Regions from separate parts of the Homo sapiens genome. Here regions 2, 3, 4, 5, 6 and 7 are each linked to region 1. The links are contacts of gene promoters, found by promoter capture Hi-C in blood cells and fetal thymus (Javierre and others, 2016). All regions are on one chromosome and are shown on one strand. Each heading gives the region's core, a stretch centred on a gene start or on the middle of the fragment in contact. The rest is flanking DNA. Distances are from core to core; before and after follow the strand shown. Region 1 holds the start of C1orf220 (chromosome 1 putative open reading frame 220). Region 2 overlaps RALGPS2 (Ral GEF with PH domain and SH3 binding motif 2). Region 3 has its middle 62 kb from the start of ANGPTL1. Region 4 overlaps FAM20B (FAM20B glycosaminoglycan xylosylkinase). Region 5 overlaps FAM20B (FAM20B glycosaminoglycan xylosylkinase). Region 6 has its middle 48 kb from the start of FAM20B. Region 7 overlaps RALGPS2 (Ral GEF with PH domain and SH3 binding motif 2).

Evidence for each region. Contacts are between HindIII fragments. The CHiCAGO score rates a contact against its expected background, and 5 or more counts as called.
Region 2: a contact is called between a fragment that was not itself captured here and the fragment with the promoter of C1orf220 in region 1, in 3 of 17 cell types (total B cells, naive B cells and total CD4 T cells). The highest score is 16.6, in total B cells.
Region 3: a contact is called between a fragment that was not itself captured here and the fragment with the promoter of C1orf220 in region 1, in 5 of 17 cell types (total B cells, naive B cells, megakaryocytes and 2 more). The highest score is 15.7, in total B cells.
Region 4: a contact is called between a fragment that was not itself captured here and the fragment with the promoter of C1orf220 in region 1, in 1 of 17 cell types (naive CD4 T cells). The highest score is 5.8, in naive CD4 T cells.
Region 5: a contact is called between a fragment that was not itself captured here and the fragment with the promoter of C1orf220 in region 1, in 9 of 17 cell types (total B cells, M2 macrophages, fetal thymus and 6 more). The highest score is 8.6, in total B cells.
Region 6: a fragment that was not itself captured here is called in contact with the fragment with the promoter of C1orf220 in region 1 in 4 of 17 cell types (endothelial precursors, naive B cells, fetal thymus and 1 more); the score reaches 5.9 in endothelial precursors.
Region 7: a contact is called between a fragment that was not itself captured here and the fragment with the promoter of C1orf220 in region 1, in 2 of 17 cell types (naive B cells and total B cells). The highest score is 13.9, in naive B cells.

What each region holds. Positions count from the first base shown.
Region 1 is chr1:178,541,458-178,544,157 of GRCh38, reverse strand. C1orf220 (chromosome 1 putative open reading frame 220) reads right to left here and starts at 1,362. Exons shown (of 3, transcript NR_033186.1): 1 at 1,273-1,362. It overlaps LOC124904460 (a long non-coding RNA gene), which reads left to right and starts at 1,513. Exons shown (of 2, transcript XR_007066748.1): 1 at 1,513-2,124; 2 at 2,332-2,700. RefSeq lists silencers at 1,128-1,197, 1,228-1,557 and an enhancer at 1,608-1,667. The HindIII fragment of the contact is 17,585 bases long and covers 1-2,700 here.
Region 2 is chr1:178,895,260-178,897,959 of GRCh38, reverse strand. RALGPS2 (Ral GEF with PH domain and SH3 binding motif 2) reads right to left here. Exons shown (of 20, transcript NM_152663.5): 17 at 204-296. Among named protein-coding and RNA genes, the nearest start is that of ANGPTL1, 26 kb to the right of the region's middle. The HindIII fragment of the contact is 2,744 bases long and covers 1-2,700 here.
Region 3 is chr1:178,931,758-178,934,457 of GRCh38, reverse strand. No RefSeq gene overlaps it. Among named protein-coding and RNA genes, the nearest start is that of ANGPTL1, 62 kb to the right of the region's middle. The HindIII fragment of the contact is 283 bases long and covers 1,203-1,485 here.
Region 4 is chr1:179,047,530-179,050,229 of GRCh38, reverse strand. The region is part of intron 2 of FAM20B (FAM20B glycosaminoglycan xylosylkinase); the gene reads right to left. Among named protein-coding and RNA genes, the nearest start is that of FAM20B, 23 kb to the right of the region's middle. The HindIII fragment of the contact is 872 bases long and covers 918-1,789 here.
Region 5 is chr1:179,029,552-179,032,251 of GRCh38, reverse strand. The region is part of intron 1 of FAM20B (FAM20B glycosaminoglycan xylosylkinase); the gene reads right to left. Among named protein-coding and RNA genes, the nearest start is that of FAM20B, 5.0 kb to the right of the region's middle. RefSeq lists a silencer at 2,584-2,700 and an enhancer at 2,647-2,700. The HindIII fragment of the contact is 3,274 bases long and covers 1-2,700 here.
Region 6 is chr1:178,976,259-178,978,958 of GRCh38, reverse strand. No RefSeq gene overlaps it. Among named protein-coding and RNA genes, the nearest start is that of FAM20B, 48 kb to the left of the region's middle. The HindIII fragment of the contact is 3,419 bases long and covers 1-2,700 here.
Region 7 is chr1:178,913,907-178,916,606 of GRCh38, reverse strand. It overlaps RALGPS2 (Ral GEF with PH domain and SH3 binding motif 2), which reads right to left. Exons shown (of 20, transcript NM_152663.5): 20 at 1-277. The coding sequence ends at 248. Among named protein-coding and RNA genes, the nearest start is that of ANGPTL1, 44 kb to the right of the region's middle. The HindIII fragment of the contact is 5,766 bases long and covers 1-2,700 here.

The DNA of each region.
Region 1 (2,700 bases), core at 113-2,612:
ACTAAGAATAAAAAATTTAGCCAGGCATGGTGGTGGCACGCCTGTTAATCCCCGCTACTTGGGAGATTGAGGCAGGAGAATCGCTTGAACCTGGGAAGCAGAGGTTGCAGTGAGTCGAGATGGCGCCACTGCACTCCAGCCTGGGCCACAGAGCGAGACTCCGTCTCAAACAAACAAACGACAACAACAAAATGCAAACTCTGGCCAGGCGCGGTGGCTCATGCCTGTAATCCCAGCACGTTGGGAGGCCAAGGTGGGCGTATCACTTGAGGTCAGGAGTTCAAGACCAGCCTGGCGAACATGGTGAAACCCCATCTCTACTAAAAATACAAAAATTAGCCAGGTGTGGTGTCATGCACCTGTAGTCCCAGCTACTCAGAAGGCTGAGGCAGGATAATCGCTTGAACCTGGAAGACAGGTTGCGGTGAGCACAGATCGCGCCACTGCACCCCAACCTGAGCGACAGAACAAGACTTCATAAAAAAAAAAAAAACCCCACGCAGATTGCAGATTCCTGGGCCCCATCTTCGCCTTTCTGAATTGCAGCCTTTCACCCTTTAAGAATGAGAGGGTGAAATCTGCACGTCATACAAATAGCCCAGGGGCTATTAATCTGATGTTGCTCCCCAGCTCCCTCCAACACCGTCAGAGGGTGCACGGATTAGGCCTCTGCTGCGTGCAGAGAAGCATCCTAGGTGCTGCGTGGCTGTGCCAAAGCAGCAGAAACCGGTGGTGTGCCTTAAGATGCATGCTCCAAAGCTGTCCACAAGGCCTCTGGTACAGGCTTCCAGGTCTACGTCTCGGCTTCCCCGACAGTGTCCATGCGACACTGTCACCAGTTTCTCCTCTCACAAGCAGAAAATCAAATTCGGATTGGGCAAATGATTCCCTGCCCGGGTGTGGAATAAGGGTCAAGTCCTAAGTATGGAGAGAGAGCGCCGGCTCCCGCCAGGATATGCGAAGCTCTGGAGGGGAGGCCAAGCCACCAGGCACCCGGCGGGAGAAGAGGAGGCTGGAGAGCGCCGCCCAGTGCCTGCAGGCCGGGCGCTCCACGCCTCCCCTCCCTCCTGCACACCCCATTCCCCTCCGGTTGCCCCGCCTGGGAAGCCCCCTCCCCACACCTCCCGGCCCAGCATCTGCACGAGAGCCGCGAGCCCTGGCCCAGAGCTCTGGGTGGGCCTCTCACCCCAGACGGCGGCCGCAGCCCGTCCCTGATCACCGGCCGCCTGAGCCCTCCGTTCGCTCGGCGCGAGCGCCGCCACCCGTCCTTACCCCCATCCAGTCCGAGGCCAGCCCCGTAGGCTCCGAGCCTGCTCCGTGAAAAGCCTTTTCCCCAGGAGGAGAGTTACTGTAAAGCAAGAGGAAGCCGAGAAGAGGCGGTGGCTGCAGCGCGCGGGGCCCGGCGGGGGCGCGGGGGCGTCGGGGTACTGACTGGGCAGCGCGGTTTCCCCTCATCCCGGGACACGGTGCGGCGCTAGCGCCACCCAGCGGGCGCGGTGGGAATTGCGCTCCCTTCCTGCGCTGGGGCTCTGGACACACAGGCGACCAAGAATGACGCCTGCAGCCGGATAAACGCTCGGGGCAAGGCCGCTATCATCCCTCTGCCGGGAGTGAGTCAAGTCTCAGCAAAAGAAGAAGCCACTTTGGCCAAAATTCCAAGAGTGCTGATGAAGACGGTGACATCTGACATTTCAATGGCACTTTCCATTTCCCCCGGGGTGCGCATTCCGGGCCAGTGGAGCGCTGCGTCGCCTGTGCAGGACCTGGAGGTCTGCAGGACTGTGACCAGTCGGAGTCTCGGAGTCGTGGGTTAAACATTAGTCGGGAGCACTCGTTCATTCCCTGAGCTCCCCTTGCCCTTCACCCTTCGGTCCCGGAAGCCGGAAGGGAGACTGCCCCGCCCCTTGCCTGCCGCCCAGTGGCTCTCCCGGGGCCCTCTTGGCCCCTCTCTCCCAGCCCTCCATACAGTGAAGGGTTGTTTCCGCTGGTGACTTCCACCTGTGGGAGCAGAGAAAGGAAGCGGGGCAGAGGAGAAGGGGAAGGTGTCAGGCGATTCCCCTCCTTGCGCTGCAAGCCGGGTGGGAATAGAACACCTGCAGCCCTCCCCGGCGCCCTGCGAATGAGGTGGGAGTGGGAACGCCATCAGGGCAGAGCCCCTCCAGCTGGCTGGGGTCTGCACCTCCTCGCCAGCCCGGCCACCTCAAAACGGTGCTTGCCTCCCTGCGGGGGTGTAGAAGCCTCTTGGAGCAGCACTTGTAGAAAATCAAGTCCCTGGAAAGAAGCAAAATTAATCCGTTTGTTTCTCTATTTATTTTTGCTTCCCCACACCAGGTATTCACTTCATCCAAGGCTGCCCAATGTCACCTTCCACCCAGAGGAATCTCCCCTCTCCACCCCAGGCCAACAGCCTCTGCCTTCAGCTGTGGCCTCCACTCTGGCATTACTCTGGGCAGAGGGCTCAGGAGGGCTCAAGGAGGACCAGTGACATTCAGAGTGGCCAGAGTAAAGGGAGGGAGGGGGAGTGGTGGGAGAGGCGTGCAGAAGGCACAGGTGAGGTGGCGGAGGGGGGCAGGTGGTGGGGGGAGCGGGCTGGGGTGGGATGGGCCTGTCAGCATAGCAAGGGCTGTGATGGGCTTGAGTCTGACAGGGGGCAATGACCTGACCTACGGTTTTGTAAGATCACTCTGGCTGCCACCTGGA
Region 2 (2,700 bases), core at 112-2,611, 350 kb before region 1:
ATAGATAAGCGTAATGTGCAGTTTTGACATTTGCAATGGAAAAATGGTATTTAAAAAAGAAATAAATGTAAAAACTTTTGGACTAGAAGATAGGAAAAAACAAGGCAAACCCAAAAAACCTTTGTATCCCATTAGGACTGCTTTCTTTATAACCATGAACAGTCTGGGAAACCACGCTAAAAATGTAGAGAACAAATACTTACATGTTTTCTTTCGGTAGCCTTTAGAGATTTGGCAGCATAGTAAAAAAGCTGTGTCCCACACAAAGCTGCCCAATATTTTGTCCAAGATGCTACCTGGATAGGACAAACACAGGAATATACTATTACAATGCTCCTGGCTTCTTAGTTTCTTTACATTCTAAGTGCCAATGATCAAGTCCACTTCACTTCAACCAAAGTCCTAACCTCAGAGTTGAGCTGTATCACTTCTGAAATCTTAATCTCAAATACTCCTGTCACTGCCATGTAACTACCTGTTTGTAGACCCACATACTCAGTCTTTCCTCCAGCTACAAAAGAATAGTTAACCCCGATTCTATCTAAAGGCAAACTCAACTCTCTTTTTATGCCCTAGATTCCAACTCTCTCTCACTTTTTAAAGAAGTTTGCTTTACAGTCCCACCAACAGTGTAAAAGTGTTCCTATTTCTCCACATCCTCTCCAGCACCTGTTGTTTCCTGACTTTTTAATGACTGCCATTCTAACTGGTGTGAGATGGTATCTCATTGTGGTTTTGATTTGCATTTCTCTGATGGCCAGTGATGATGAGCATTTTTTCATGTGTTTTTTGGCTGCATAAATGTCTTCTTTTGAGAAGTGTCTGTTCATGTCCTTCGCCCACTTTTTGATGGGGTTGTTTGTTTTTTTCTTGTAAATTTGTTGGTGGGACTGTAAACTAATTCAACCATTGTGGAAGTCAGTGTGGCGATTCCTCAGGGATCTAGAACTGGAAATACCATTTGACCCAGCCATCCCATTACTGGGTATATACACAAAGGACTATAAATCATGCTGCTATAAAGACACATGCACACGTATGTTTATTGCGGCATTATTCACAATAGCAAAGACTTGGAACCAATCCAAATGTCCAACAATGATAGACTGGATTAAGAAAATGTGGCACATATACACCATGGAATACTATGCAGCCATAAAAAATGATGAGTTCATGTCCTTTGTAGGGACATGGATGAAATTGGAAATCATCATTCTCAGTAAACTATCGCAAGAACAAAAAACCAAACACCGCATATTCTCACTCATAGGTGGGAATTGAACAATGAGATCACATGGACACAGGAAGGGGAATATCACACTCTGGGGACTGTTGTGGGGTCGGGGGAGGGATAGCATCGGGAGATATACCTAATGCTAGATGACGAGTTAGTGGGTGCAGCGCACCAGCATGGCACATGTATACATATGTAACTAACCTGCACAATGTGCACATGTACCCTAAAACTTAAAGTATAATAAAAAAAAAAAAAGAAAAAAAAAATAAAGAAGTTTGCTTTTGCAATTAACTCCATTGCTTCTCAATCTCTCTCCCTCTACCACCATTATACAAATGAACCTTAATAGTACTCCCACCTTTAAAATCCCTCCTTTGACCCATCTCCTCACTCCCCAGACACCAACCAATTTCTCTTCTCCTTTTCACAGCATAACTTCTTGCAAGGGTGTCTCTAAATCTTGCCTCTACTTCTTCTGTTTTGCCCATTTTCTACTTAACTCATTTCATTTGGCTTTTGGGCCATCAAGGTCACTGATGATTGTAATTTTAGCAAAGCCTCTATCCTTATCATAGCCAGCCTCTTAACAGCATCTGACCCAGCTGGCCACTCTTTGCTTTTTGAAGTACTGTAACTGCTAGGCTTCTGGGATAACAGTTCCTTAGTTTTCCTTTATACTCTTCTTTGTGGGAGACCTTTAATGCTACAGAGCCCCATCTCCAACCTTGTTTTCTTCTCTAGCTATACTTTCTTCTTAGATAATCTATCATCCAGTTCCATATTTCAAATACTATCTATCTGTATGCTAATGACTCCCAAATCTATCTCCCTGCCACCTCTCTGCTGACCTCATGATCCATACTTTTTCAACAGCCACAATGACACCTCCACTTGAATGTTTAATAAGCATATCAAACTGAACTTGGCCAAGACTGACCTGCCCCCCATTTCAATAAATGTCCCCAACATACACCCATCTCAGTCCCCAAACCTAGAAGTTATCTTTGTTTTCACTCTTTCTCTCATACATCATGTTTAATTTATCATCAAACAACTCCAGCTTTTGCCTCTTACTTGATCTCCTCCACCTTCCCCAATTTCAATGCGTAAACTACACAAGCCTTCTTGTCTCCTGAACTCTAGATATTCACACAGCTAACTCACCTTCCTCATTCAGATCTCAGCTCAAATGTTTTGCCATGGTGGCATCCCTCCTTGCCCCATCATTCTGTATCCTATGACATTATTTTAAAGCCTTATTCTCTATTTCTCCTCACTGAAATGTAATCCAGGAGGAAGACACTTTGCCTCACCTTGTTCACTGCTCTATTTCTAGCATCCAGCACACAAAAGGTATGGTAATGCTTCAACTGACATGCAATTCTGAGTTCACTAGCCTGCCTAAGAGATTCTTGATTTGTATGTGCCTTTGGCTTACTGTGATATAAACAACAAAATAAGAT
Region 3 (2,700 bases), core at 95-2,594, 390 kb before region 1:
CTTATAGAATAAGAAACTATGAAGTCATGCTTCACTGTCAGAATGAAACAACTTCTGGCTCTTTTGTTAGGAAGTTGCTTATGTCCAACTTACCTGACAAGGAGCCCCAGAGAGAGACCACAGTTCAAACTTGCTTGATTTCACCTTCAGCTGTCTGCTAGTGTCTAACATTTCATAGAGAGAGACGAGAATAGCCACTCTCAATAATGGGTCCCAGCTGACCAAGGGTGCAGAATATTTATGCTGGCGGTTCCCATCTGCTGAGCGGTTACAAGCGCCAGGCCCTGTGCTTTGCATCTTCCACGCATGACCTTATTCAACCTCACAATAAACTTAGGAAGGAGGAGCTTTCTCATGCTGTTTTTGCAGATGAGGAAATACACTTGGGAGGGTAAGTGTGGTGGACAGGAAGAGTTGAGTGATGTGGGCAATTGAACATGGAGGGATAGGGGGCCAGAGTCCCACTCTTCTCCAAGAAGGGTGCCGGGTCATCAGGGAGGGCCAATGCATCCACTGGCAGATCAGTTAATCAGCATTACTAGTCCCAGAGCCTAGCAGAGGGCAGGGCTCCTGGGCACAGGAGACAGAGGAGCCTTCATCCTTCAAAATGCCTCTCAATTGTTTCCTACCTGTGCTCCCACTTTGGGACAGACCCTTGCTCTCTCTCTCCTGGAGAACAGCTGTTTCCTGCCTGGTCTCCCAGCTTCCATTCTCCAATTCCTCCTTCTGGCACTTAAAATCCTGAGCAATTTGGCTCCAACCTACTTTTCCAACTTTATGTGTTGCCACTTCTCAGTGTGAGCTCTTCCCAGCCTCAACTGTATATTTCCAGCTCTTGCTTGCAATTCTTCTCCCCTGGTCCTAAATCCTACCCACCCATGGACTCTCCTCTTCCACGTGGCCTTCCCTGGCCTCTCAGGGCCACAGTGTTTCTCCTGAATACGAAGAACTTTCTTAGTCTAGCATGGGCATCCAGCACATTTATGCAATTCAGGATTGCTTGTGTTAACCACTCTGTTTTGTGTCTGTAGTGAGGCTGTAAAACTCCAGGGACCACATGCAGCACAGTGCAAGGCCTACTGGGAGGCTCTGTCCCGGGAACAGACATTGGAAAAAAAAAAAGGTTATATTTACATGTTGACAGCACATGGATTTCTTCAGCTGAAAACTGTCATTAGCAAGGAAAATTAAAGTAGGAAGCTTGTTCTTTCTTTGAGTTTCATAATAAATCACAAAGTCATTTGCGGAGCTTTTGTGCTGCAGGTTCTGGGCACCAAAACTGCAAGTTACAGCTCTGAAAGCCAGTGTCCACCAGGGCCGAGAATCAGACCAGAGTTTGAATCCTGGCTCCACCTCCTTACTGGGTGACTGTAGGCAAGTTCTTCAACCTCTCCAAATTTTCTGGTTGTAATTCAAGAAGAAGTATCTCTACTATACAGGGTTGTTAAGAAAGAATAAATTAGATAACAATGTATAAAATAAGCTTAGAACCACAACATCAGAACCAATGACTATATGATGAATCAAACTGACTTACTTTCACAAAATGCGTTGGGAACTTAGAATGGTATCGGTAGGAAAGTAGTGAGGACCTGAGGTGGGGTGAACAGGAAAACAGCTGCTCAGTTGCCTTTGCTTAGGATGAGTTTGTGCTCCGGGCGCAGGGATTAGGTGATGAGGAGGTAGTTGCCACTGGACAGGGAAATGTGTTGCTTCTTCCCAGCGACCTCAGGGGACACTCTCCTCACTGACTGTGAGATCCCCTTGGTCAGGGACTGCCTCCCCTTCCCCAGAACCTAGCACAGAGCAGGAGTTCAGCACATACTGGTTTTCATTGAACATTCCCAAGTACTTACTTTCCAAGAATAAAAGAAGCAGTTCTTTCTAGACTTACTTGCTAAGCAAAAAATGGATAATTAAGATGTTGCAAGAAAGTCGCTGGCAAAAGTCCAAGGAGCTGCTTTTCTTAAACCCTGCACGGAGGTGCAGGGGGTGACATATTTTGACAGCTATGACATAGCTCAGGGCAGATGGAAGAACAACAAGTACAAAAGAGAACTTGATTTTGGCTTTGGCCAAAGAGAACTTTTGACTTTGTTTGGCAACTGTTTACTGGATACCATAGTAGCATGCCTTGCCCTAGTGTGGTGTGAGAGCTGCCCCTCAGCCAGTGATGGAGAATGAAAATACTTGAGAGTAAAAGCCTAATTATTTAAAAATACATCAAAACAAAAGCAAAGAGGGAAACAATCTGGCTTCAACGTTTATGAGAGTCCAGAGTCTCTGAAGAAGCTGGTCCTGTTAAGGAATGGAAGACAGGGCCCCAAGGGAGCTGAGGGCGTGGCTGCTTCCCCAGGGCCTGCTGTGGGGGCCAAACTGACCCTGAGAGGCAGTGTGTCAGCTTCACAGCTGACTTGAGAACCAGCGGGGCCCTGGGTCTGGTTTACCACAATAAAGGAACAAAATGTTCCCTTTCTAGCAGAGCCGCTGCTGGTGGGGTTCGGGACAGAGGCGGGTCAGGGCCCTCCGAGATGTAAGGACACTGCTTTGCTTTGCCAGTGAACTCTGGTTTGGTTTGGGGGTATTTCATCTTTAAGGACTGTGAAGGTCCCATTTGTTCCCTGCTTTAATAAAAAATAACACAAGAAATAGGTGTTTCTCTCCCTTATTTTGAGACCACTAATCAATACCATCTGATCA
Region 4 (2,700 bases), core at 104-2,603, 510 kb before region 1:
CAGGTGACAGCACAAGTGGTAGAATACACCCATTAGCAAGCCTGATTCTGCTATAGTCACCTTCTCTGTCAACCCTGCAAACAACTGTGGATTAGCATGAATTGCCGGTAGATGGAATGAAGATGAGGTAGAGAAGGAAACTAGAATTCTCTATCTACGTCACCAATCATTCTAAGAATAAAACATGGAAGCTGTCATTTTTGCCCCACTAAAGGGCTTTTGATGTAGTTTTAGTACAGATAAAAGGTAGTTTTCTGGAAGGCAAGGACTGTCTTTGTATTGCCAGCACAGTGTTAAGCACATAGTTGGTGCTTAATAAATGTCTACTAAAATGTTTATTAGACTGACCTGAAGAAATGAAGAAAAATGTGTAATTAAAACTTTTGCTGGCCAGGCACGGTGGCTCACACCTGTAATCCCAGCACTTTGGCAGGCCAAGATGGGTGGATCACCTGAGGTCGGTAGTTCGAGAACAGCCTGGCCAACATGGCGAAACCCCATCTCTACTAAAAAACACCAAAATTACCTGGGTGTGGTGGTGAATGCCTGTAATCCCAGCTGCTCAGGAGGCTGAGTCAGGAGAATCGCTTGAACCTGGGAGGCGGAGGTTGCAGTGAGCCGAGACTGTGCCACTGCACTCCAGCCTGGGCAACAGAGTGAGGCTCTGTCTCAAAAAACAAAAAACTTTTGCTTACCAGAATGGCTGTGGCAAAGCTTATAAGAGAAATTTAAATTTGGGGGAAAATAGTCTGATATAACTCAATCTTTGTTAATGGGAAGGCAACAGCGCTTTTGAAAAAAGTTGTTTGAATAACCATTCTTGTTCTTTTTTTTTAAGTTTATGATGACGTACTACAAGGAGTCCTGGACTGGCAGTGGGAGGTTGGTGTGGCTGTCATTACTTGACTGGGTAAGCTTGAGCAAAACCTTTCTCTTCTCTGGGTCTCAGATTCCTTACTTACAATATTAGGGGCTGGACTAGGAGGTAATTTCTAAGGTCTCTTTCATCTCAGACTGCATTCTGATGATTTTCTATCACATGTATGACATAAGCAAAGGATAATGAAGACTGGCATATTTCTTTCTACTAACCATTTTAAAAGATAGAATTTAAATCTGTTAATTAGGAAGAAAAAAGTACTTAATTCACCTATGTCCTCTCTATTGGTCTCCTGCATTTCCTGAATCTAAAGGAGACCTTTTAGGCTTTACAATGGACCTATGAAATAGAAATAAATTGAGAGTGATGTGGAGAAGAGAGGTTCCACTAAGGATAGTTGGCTCTCTCATGCTAAAACAGCAATAGGGAAGTGGAAAACAGTACTATAAAAGGCAGTGAACTTCAACTTAAATGACCTTAGAATATAAAGTGAAATCATATCCACAAAATATATCTTCAAGGCAAAATGATGAAGCATTTGTTAGAAGACAGCCATGTATCACCTTCTGGTTGGGCACCAGTTTCTTCTTAGCATGGTCAATATACCCAAATGTAATTTTTTGTTTGTTTGTTCCTAGTGCAAAGGATTACTTAGGAATAATTTTTTAAAAGGTTTATATTAGCTACCTCTAAATTAAAAGTCAAATTTGAAATACCCCTGCAGCAAAAAGCTGACACTATTCAGGTACTGTTCTACTACAGATGTAGGCTATCCTTGAATACTTTATTTTTAGTACTTCAGGGCAGCCACAGGAAGGTATGTGGTGAAGTGCAGTATGGTCCTTTCAGTGAAACATTAGAGAGCTTTCCAATCCATCTAAAGGCTGCGCAGAGTAAAATGCAAAAGCTTAGAGGAATACAGGAACTTTGGGAGTGGGCAGGAGAGGAAAAGATGGAGGGAAGAGAAAAGGAATAAGAATCAAAAGAACTACACTGAAGTCAGGCCTGAATCCTCAGCTCATGTTTTGGTTATGTGAAATATGGAAAATCAGAATTCTGGATCTCATTTTTCTCACCTGTAAAATGGACAGTTGGACTAGCTGATCTCCAAGGTCCCTTTTAGTACTTCCTGAGATTACTCATTCACTTCTACGCGCTTCTAGGCCCCTGCCTTCTTGTTCTTTTTCCAACATAACTGCTGTTTTTGCCTGTGAAAATCAATTACTTCTAGAATGGAAATAGCTACATTAAAAAAAAAATCACCTTTACTTATAATGTAAGGCAAAATGTGTAAATAAAAGTGTCACTCTATTCCCATATATATCATCTACCTATACTGCACACACCTTGTATCTCTGAGAGCAGGACATGGATAATCAGGCTCCAGAAATGTTAAAACCACAAGTGGCTTTCAGAGAAAGGACTTAGATTCTTCTCTTACCAGAGAGTGATCCATCTTAAGTCACTGACAGAGCAGCAAAATTCATACAGTAACTGCCAATAAATCATTCCTATCCTTCTGCTGAAGGACATCAGAGTATGACCAAGGACATTAATTTGCACTTACACCAGGACTAAATAAATAGCCTCTGAAGCCCTGGGGGTCAGAACAGCATTTTGCTGGGTGTTTAGGGACTGGAGTCAATTTCTGCAAGCACTTAAACTTACAACCACTTTCCCCAGCCTGTGATATTTCCTGATATAAAGCAGCACAGGTCAGTATGTGCAGTGACTAAGAGAGTTAGCACCTATGGCAGGGGCCAAAAAAAACCTTGCTGAGTTGGAGAAGAGAGTGCCCTGTTGCTGGGAGTGGACACAGG
Region 5 (2,700 bases), core at 22-2,521, 490 kb before region 1:
GCTAGTCATTATCACCATATCAAAAACCCAGATGACCTCCAGAGAGGAGAAAAATGACAAAGAAAACCCTCATTGGAATCAATATACCATAATGTTGTCTTCTCAGTTACATAGTGAGGGGCCAAATCCACACATTGCATTACTAAGAGTTTAGTAGTAATTAGTAGTCTTGTATTTCTGAGCCAAATTCTTGCCTAAATTTGAGAGGTAGATAAGACTAGGCAAATAGATATCTTCAGAGTGAGTGTCATGCAAAGCAGAAGACTGGGAGGCTGTCACTAATTTGGCCAACCTGTTTCCCTTCTCTACAAAGTTCAATTCTACCACACTCAATGTAACTGAAACAGATGGGAAGCATGAACTTATCCCACTTCACAAAAAAAGGCTAAAATAGAATGCCTTTCACAACTGTTTTCAGTTTGGAAAATTAGTTCTGTGTTTTAAAGATGACAGCTTTTCATGTGCTAAAGCCCTTAAGATAAGCCTTAAGAGTAACTTAAGAGTACAGGTGTAGAAAATCTAATTCTTACATAATCCAAATTGGTCCAAGTGTCAGGTTTTCCTTACTGTTTTCACTTCCATTTAAACATTTATTTACATCTGTAAACTCAGAATCACTTATATGAAATTCTCTAACAAGTTCCCTCTGAAGGAAGGCAACTAAAACCATTACCAGGCATTAATGAAGCATTAAGGTAGTCTTTCTTGCTGGATGTGAAAGTAAAAATGAAATAGGCAATAACTGAATAATTTCAATAAGTGAACTGAAAAAAAATCAATCTCTGCAACCTGTCCCATTTAAACCTTGATTTAGGGCAACCCTCTTCCTTGAAAAATGAAAAAGAAAAAAACTTTAGCTCATACTGCTAGCGAGTTCTGTTCTAAAAAACCAACACACGCAGTAATCTTGACACTACGTGGAAATGAGTAACAATTTGCATTTTCCTTTAAATAAGCCAGGTATAATGACACTTCCCAAGTTCCAGGTATTTCACAGCACAACTGTCAGTACAGAACCACCATTTAAGGCTAGATTATAGAAGGTAATTCCTGTATAGTGTTGAAATACGGCATTACAAATATTATAACATTTTCCTTCAGCTTTTCATATGCTTTCCATCTTTAGTGTTCAATTCACTACAGTTCTTGGAAAACCACATAAACTTTATACAACAATAGACCTCGCATTTTTAGCCTTATGTTCTATGGTACGTCAAGCTGACAGCCCACACAGGAGATCACTCTCAGAAGCAGGAGAACCTCAAACAGATCTGTGCTGAAATTATGGCTAGGTGGCTCCAGGCATGATCCCTCTGTTATACTATGAACTCACACACACACAAACACACACACACACATTTTTTTTTTTTTTTGGCACATCTGTCTCTTCTAATATATTGTGTTTTTTGAGGATGGGATAGATTTTACTCACGCTTTGTACTTCCAAGTAACTTAGCACTGTGCAGGGCCTGTAAGAGGCATCTGATAAGTGTTTGTGGAATAAAAGGAGAGAAGGGCAAAGGAGAAAGACCTTTAGGGTTATAAGAATTTCTTCTAAACTGGCAACTCTCTGGTTTAAAGACTGCCTCTTTCAGAGACAGGGGGAAATAAGTCCTACAATGAATTCAAGTATACAGTATATAAAAGATGCAGAAATAGCGAATATGTATACCAATTATATACACTCAATTTAAAGTTGCCACCTTCTGTATATCCTGCTTCCACCTTTCAAGGCCACTGCTATTGCCAACCTGGTTCCTAGTATCGGCTGGGATTAAGAGTAAAGACAATTTGGAAATGCTAAAAGGAAGAAAGGAGGTTGTCTAACACACTGCCCAAGGATGATACAAGACAGGGCTGAAATCAGATCTTCAAGTATTATTGGCAGTGCTTTCTGAAACAAGAACCCACACGAGTAAGTACTTCCATATTATTTTGTTTTTTTTTTTACAGAAAACTACAGGAACATAAATGCACCTATACAGAGCACACGTTCACTATCTACACCAACGATAAGAAACAAACAAACAAAAACGTCCCTGGGCAACAAAAATAAGTGGTTACAAAGTTCATACCCTAAAACTTGGAGAAGAGCAGGTAGAACATAACTAAGCCAATTTAGCTGTTTTACATTCAATGTCAGGAAGCTCCTACTCCACAGATAAGAAGCTGCAAATTTAAAAGAGGGCAGCAAGGATACTAACAGCAGCAAAAGAGCAGCTTTCCACCACTGAAAGAAGACAAAGACTGACTACTGAATCGACTCAAGTAGATTCAATAATTCAAAAAGCACAGTGGACAACAAACTACATTTTTCGATCATCTCATAGCCTCACTCAACTACTGCCAGTATGCTAGTAATAATAACCAAAGCATATATTGTAAAAATTTTTCCACAAAAGGTATAGCTAAAATAAAATTTTCACATATAATACCTTACTCCCCAACATTAGGTAAATGAGGCATTGCTATGTATATAAAGCAGAAAGTTAACATTTGAGAGCATGGAATGATAGACTTCACTGCCTCCCTCTGTACTTGGTTCTGTCCTCTTTACACATTCATAATTTCATATTCCTTGACCTGCCTTTATAACGTGCCCAAGTTAGCACCCTCTTCTCTAAAGGGGTTATCTTGCCAGAAAGTACAGACCTTAAACACACACCAAAGCTCAAGGTCTCTTCTGCATCAGCTTACATT
Region 6 (2,700 bases), core at 47-2,546, 430 kb before region 1:
TTAGCTGTAGTAAATTATTTTAAAGGCTTATCTTTAGCTATAATAAATTATTAAGATGACATCTTAATTTTGATTGCAAAAAAAGAGACAGAGGAAAAAGATACTTACCTCCATCCCCCTCTGCATTTTGATTATTTGTTGTCAATTTAAATCTTTTTATATTGTTTCTCTCTTAACAAATTGTAGTTATTAATTTTGATAGGTGTGTCTTTTAGTGTTCATACTAAAGACACAAGTAGCTTACGTACTACAATTACTATATTATTCTGAATTTGTCTATGTACACACTTATTTTTTTTTAGAAAGAGTCTTGCTCTGTCACCCAGGCTGGAGTGCAGTGGCACGATCTCGGCTCACTGCAACCTCTGCCTCCTGGGTTCGAGTGATTCTTGCGCCTCAGCCTCCCTAGAAGCTGGGATTACAGGTGCCCGCCACCATACCTGGCTAATTTTTGTAATTCTAGTAGAGATGGGGTTTCACTATGTTGGCCAGGCTGGCCTTAAACTCCTGACCTCAAGTGATCCACCCACCTCAGCCTCCCAAAGTGCTGGGATTACAGGCTTGAGGCACTGAGCCTGGCTATGTACATAGTTTTACCAGTGAGTTTTATATCTTCAAATGCTTTCTTTTTGCACATTAGCATCCTTTTATTTCAGATGGAAGAACTCTTTTTTTCACATATCTTGTAAGACAGGTCTGGTGGTGATAAATTCCTTCAGCTTTTGTTTGCCTGACAAAGTCTTTATCTCTCCTTTGTGTTTGAAAGATAGCTTTACTGGATACAGTATTCTCAGTTTGTAATTTTTGTTTTCTTCATCACTTTGAATATGGCATCCCACTCTTTCCTGGCCTCTAAGATTTCCACTGGGAAGTCCACTGTCAGACAGATGTATTGGAGCTTTTTTTTTTTTTTTTGACAGAGTCTCACTCTGTTGCCCAGGCTGGAGTGCAATGGTGTGATCTCTGCTCACTGCAACCTCCAACTCCCAGGTTCAAGCAATTCTCCCTTCCTCAGCCTCCTGAGTAGCTAGGATTACAGGCACCAGCCACCATGCCTAGCTAATTTTTGTATTGTTTAGTAGGGATGCAGTTTTGCCATGATGGCCAGGCTAGTCTTGAACTCCTGACCTCAGGTGATCTGCCGACCTCAGCCTCCCAAAGTGTTGGGATTACAGGTGTGAGCCACTGTACCTGGCCTGGAGCTTCTTTATATGTTGTTTGTTTCTTTTTTCTTGCCATTTTAGGATCCTCTTTTTCTTGTTTAACTTTGAGAGTCTGATTTTTTATATGGCTTGAGTCTTATTTGGGTTCAATCTGCTTGGTGCTCTTTGACCATCTCGTAACTGGATATTCATAACTTTCTTTAGGTTTGGAAAGTTTTCTGATATTATTTTTTTTCTTCTCCCCACTCCATGATATTATTTCTTTGAATAAACTTTCTACCCCTTTTTCTGTCTCTACTCCCTCTTTAAGGCCAACGACTCTTACATTTGCTCTTTTGAAGCTATTTTTTAATTCTCGTGTTTGTCTTTCCTTTTTCTCCTCTGTGCATTTTCAAATAGCCTGATTCTTTCTTCTGTTTGATCAATTCTTCTGTTGAAGATGTCAAATGCATTTTTTACTTGATCTATCGTATTATATTTTTCAGGTCCAGGATTTCTATTTATTTTCAAATTTTCAGTCTTTTTGTTAAATTTCTCTGATAAATTTCTGAATTTTGTGTGTGTGTGTGTGTGTGTGTGTGTGTGTGTGTGTGTGTGTGTGTGTGTGTTTAAGTTGACTGAACTTCCTCAAAACAGCTATTTTGAATTCCTTGGCTGAGAGGTCACACATCTCCATCTCTCCAGGGTCATTACTGGTGCCTTATTTAGTCTATTTAGTGAGACCATATTTTCTGAATGTTTCTGATGCTTGCATACATTCATCAATATCTGGGCATTGATGAAGTAGATACTTATTCCAGTCTTCACTGTCTGGCCTTGTTTGTATCTGTTCTTCAGGGAGCCTTCGAATAATTCAAAAGGGACCACCTGTTGAGTTCACTAAACCTGTGGTCAGTGCAGCCATTTTGCAGTAGAGAGGGCCCTAAGCCAAGTTTCACTATGAGTCTTGCAGACTCCAAGATCGCCAACCCTGATGTAGTTCTGGAAAATCAGAGATAGTTCCCTGGTGGGGGAGGGCTGACATGGACATATCCATGGCCTCTGCAGCTGGCACTATGCTAGGTCATACCAAAGCCTATAGTCTCCCTGACCGGTGCAGTACCAGGGCTAGCTCAATGCCTGCAGCTGCTACTGCCTTAATACTGCTGATATTTATTCAAAGGCCAAGGTCACTTTGGTCAGCTGGTGGTGAAGCAGGCTGGGACTTGGGTTTTTCCTGCCATGGTGATGGATTCCCTTCTGTCCCAGGACAAGTCTAGAAGTATGTCCAGGTGGGGGTTCAGCCCTGTGTTTTGTTTTACTGTGGCAAAACTGACACTAGATTCACAGGCAAAGTCTCCTGTACTCTTCTTTCTTCCCAAGTAGAGGGAGTCTCTCTGAACTGCACTGCCTGGAGCTGAGGGAGGGGTGACATGGGTACTTTTGTGGCAGACACCACTGATGTCATACTGTGTCTGGAATTTATCCCTTCTTGTGGGTTCTTGGTCTCGCTGACTTCAAGAATGAAGCCGTGGACCCTCGCAGTGAGTGTTACAGT
Region 7 (2,700 bases), core at 31-2,530, 370 kb before region 1:
TTTCCACAGGTCAGTTCTGAGATAAGAAGCATGGTTCATGGCAGTTTGTTTTGCAACTCCAATTTGTTCTCTGGGAATATCTCAAATCATTCCCTGAAATTAGTGCTTTTTTGGTTGAGAACTCCAACGACTGAGACAGAGCCTCTGGGCTCTTCCTGGCACAGGATGGTTTATAGCTGGCGCTCTTTTATCAGGTCCTCATGCTCACGTAGAAGCAACAGTTCACCTCTCTTTTTTTCTCAGGCTTCTACTCAAAAGTCATCAAGTTTGTAGGAACCTAAAAAATATAAGCATTAAAAACTGAGTTTAAAAGTTGTTTTTCAAAGGAGTATTTCTTATCTTTCCTTGTTATTTAGGCAAGCCCAATCTTTCTACTTAAGTATCTTTTAAAAGGAACTTGATATAAGGAGCTTCAATAGTTTATGAATAATTAACATGCTAGAACATTTTTGAGAGAAAATCACCAAAATGAGTTAATACTCTTTCTAGTAAAATGACATCTATACAGGAGAAGGGGTAGAGACAATATCTTTCTTGTCTAACACAGGGGGCTCAGTAGACGTTTACTGAATGAATAAATGAGAGCAAGAGTAAGTATGACTCTGGTAGGGTGAGATTCCAGATACACTTGTTTGCCATTATTTATTTTCTCATTATATATTACAAAAATTCCTAGGTGCATATTTTTAAAATCAGCAAAAATAATTTTATAACAAACATTACTAAGAATTTATTTGTAAAATCATGATTAAAATAAGTACAGAAAAACAAAATTCCTTATTAGAGTTTCACTATGTTAAAACAAATCCTCAAAACCAGTTTTCCAAAATACTGGGAGAGGTATTCATATGTCAGTGGTCTTTTCTGTCCTTAAGACAGCTCTCACAGTTTAGCAACCTCTCTCTGAAACCTATTATATGCAAAAACATAAATACCTTACAAGTGTCAGCTTCTGAATAAAAAAATTATGTTGGCCAATGTACTCATAACTGAATTACAAATCAAATACAACACAAATGCTCAAGTGCTTAAAGTATAAATTTTCAGGTCTGATTATAAGAAACTCATATTTGGCCGGGTGCGGTGGCTCACGCCTATAATCCCAGCACTTTGGGAGGCTGAGGCAGGCAGATCACCTGAGGTCAGGAGTTTAAGACCAGCCTGGCCAACATTGTGAAACTCCATCTCTACTGAAAATACAAAAATTAGCTGGGCCTGTGGTGGGTGCCTGTAATCCCAGCTACTCAGGAGGCTGAGGCAGGAGAATGGCTTGAACCCGGGAGGCAGAGGTTGCAGTGAGCCAAGATCGCACCATTGCACTGTCCAGGCTGGGCAACAAGAGTGAAACCCTGTCTCAAAGAAAAAAAAAGAAACTTGTATTTAAGTAAAGTAAAAGTTTCATTTCTTTTTAAGTTGCCTGAATGTGGTTTAAGATATTTTGCATTTGAGTCAGAGTTTTCTACTAAAACTTTCACAGGTTCTACTTACAAATTTGCCACTATTCTAATTCTTGCAAGTATAGAAACAAATATTTATACACGTCTGGTTGACTTGTTGCACAGAAATACTCACTAATACAGTAAAAGAAATTGAACCTTTAAGCTGGTATATGTATATATTGTCTAGATTCATCTTGGAATCTGAGATTGAAAAAAAAAGAGTCTTAATACCCTAAATTACATTTAAAGAAAATGTATAGCAATGAGGTGAATCCTGAAAGGCTTAGTCTAGACAAAGCCTGATCTGTTTCTTTCATTCTGCCCCAGACACTAACCTGACAAGGCAAAAAATAATTTTCGCTCTATGACATTTCATGTCCTTTATGGAGGTTGCTAAAAATGGTACTAAATACTGCTATTAGTGTTGCATATATATTTGAAACAATAAAAACTATGAGAGAACAAAGCCCACTCCAACAATATTTTAAAAAAATGCCCTCGGGATTGGGACAAGATGGCCAACTAGGCAAAGCCAGGAAGAGCTTCTCCCACCAAGAGAGATCTGAGTATCTAGTAGACCAGCATACTCCAAGCCTATCTTCTGAGAGGATGCACTGAGAGAAAATCACCGATTTTCTGAGAGTGGGTGGAGAGATGATGCAGAACCAGGGTTGAAGAGCGAAGAAGCTAGGAACCCTGCACAGGGCTGTGGAGTGCTGGGACTCATTCCTGGTCCTGAACAGCTCCTAAGGAAGGGGTGAGTAAAGTAACTGTGGAATGGCCCACTCTCACCACAAACCGCTGGGATCCTAGTGGCAGGAGATCCCATAGTCCTCCTGGATATTTGAGTTGCCAGGGGGAACTGCCTGGAGAGCTGGCAGAGACAGAACTTAGGTCTACATGGAGCCCAGGGGGTATGGTGTGGGGAAAGCTGCAAAGGAACACGGCCATAGGCGCCCACCCACCAAGGCTCTTCATACTCCTCTAGGTGGCTCTGACCTTTGCTAACTGCCATATTTGGAGAGAGCAGGGCTGTGTTTCCCATGGGACTGGGGTGAGTCTGAGCTGCATGTCCCACTGTCTACTGGCCCCTTCCAAGGTCCCTGTTTGGCCACTCCCATGGGAGCAGGCACACAGTGTAGCTTCCACTATTCTGTTGGAATGCTTTTGCGGGCGACTGTCACCATAGTGCTTTTACCAGTGGCCCCCACCATCCTGCCAGAACACTTTCAACAGTGGCCCCTGAGGAAGTGCTTTTGCC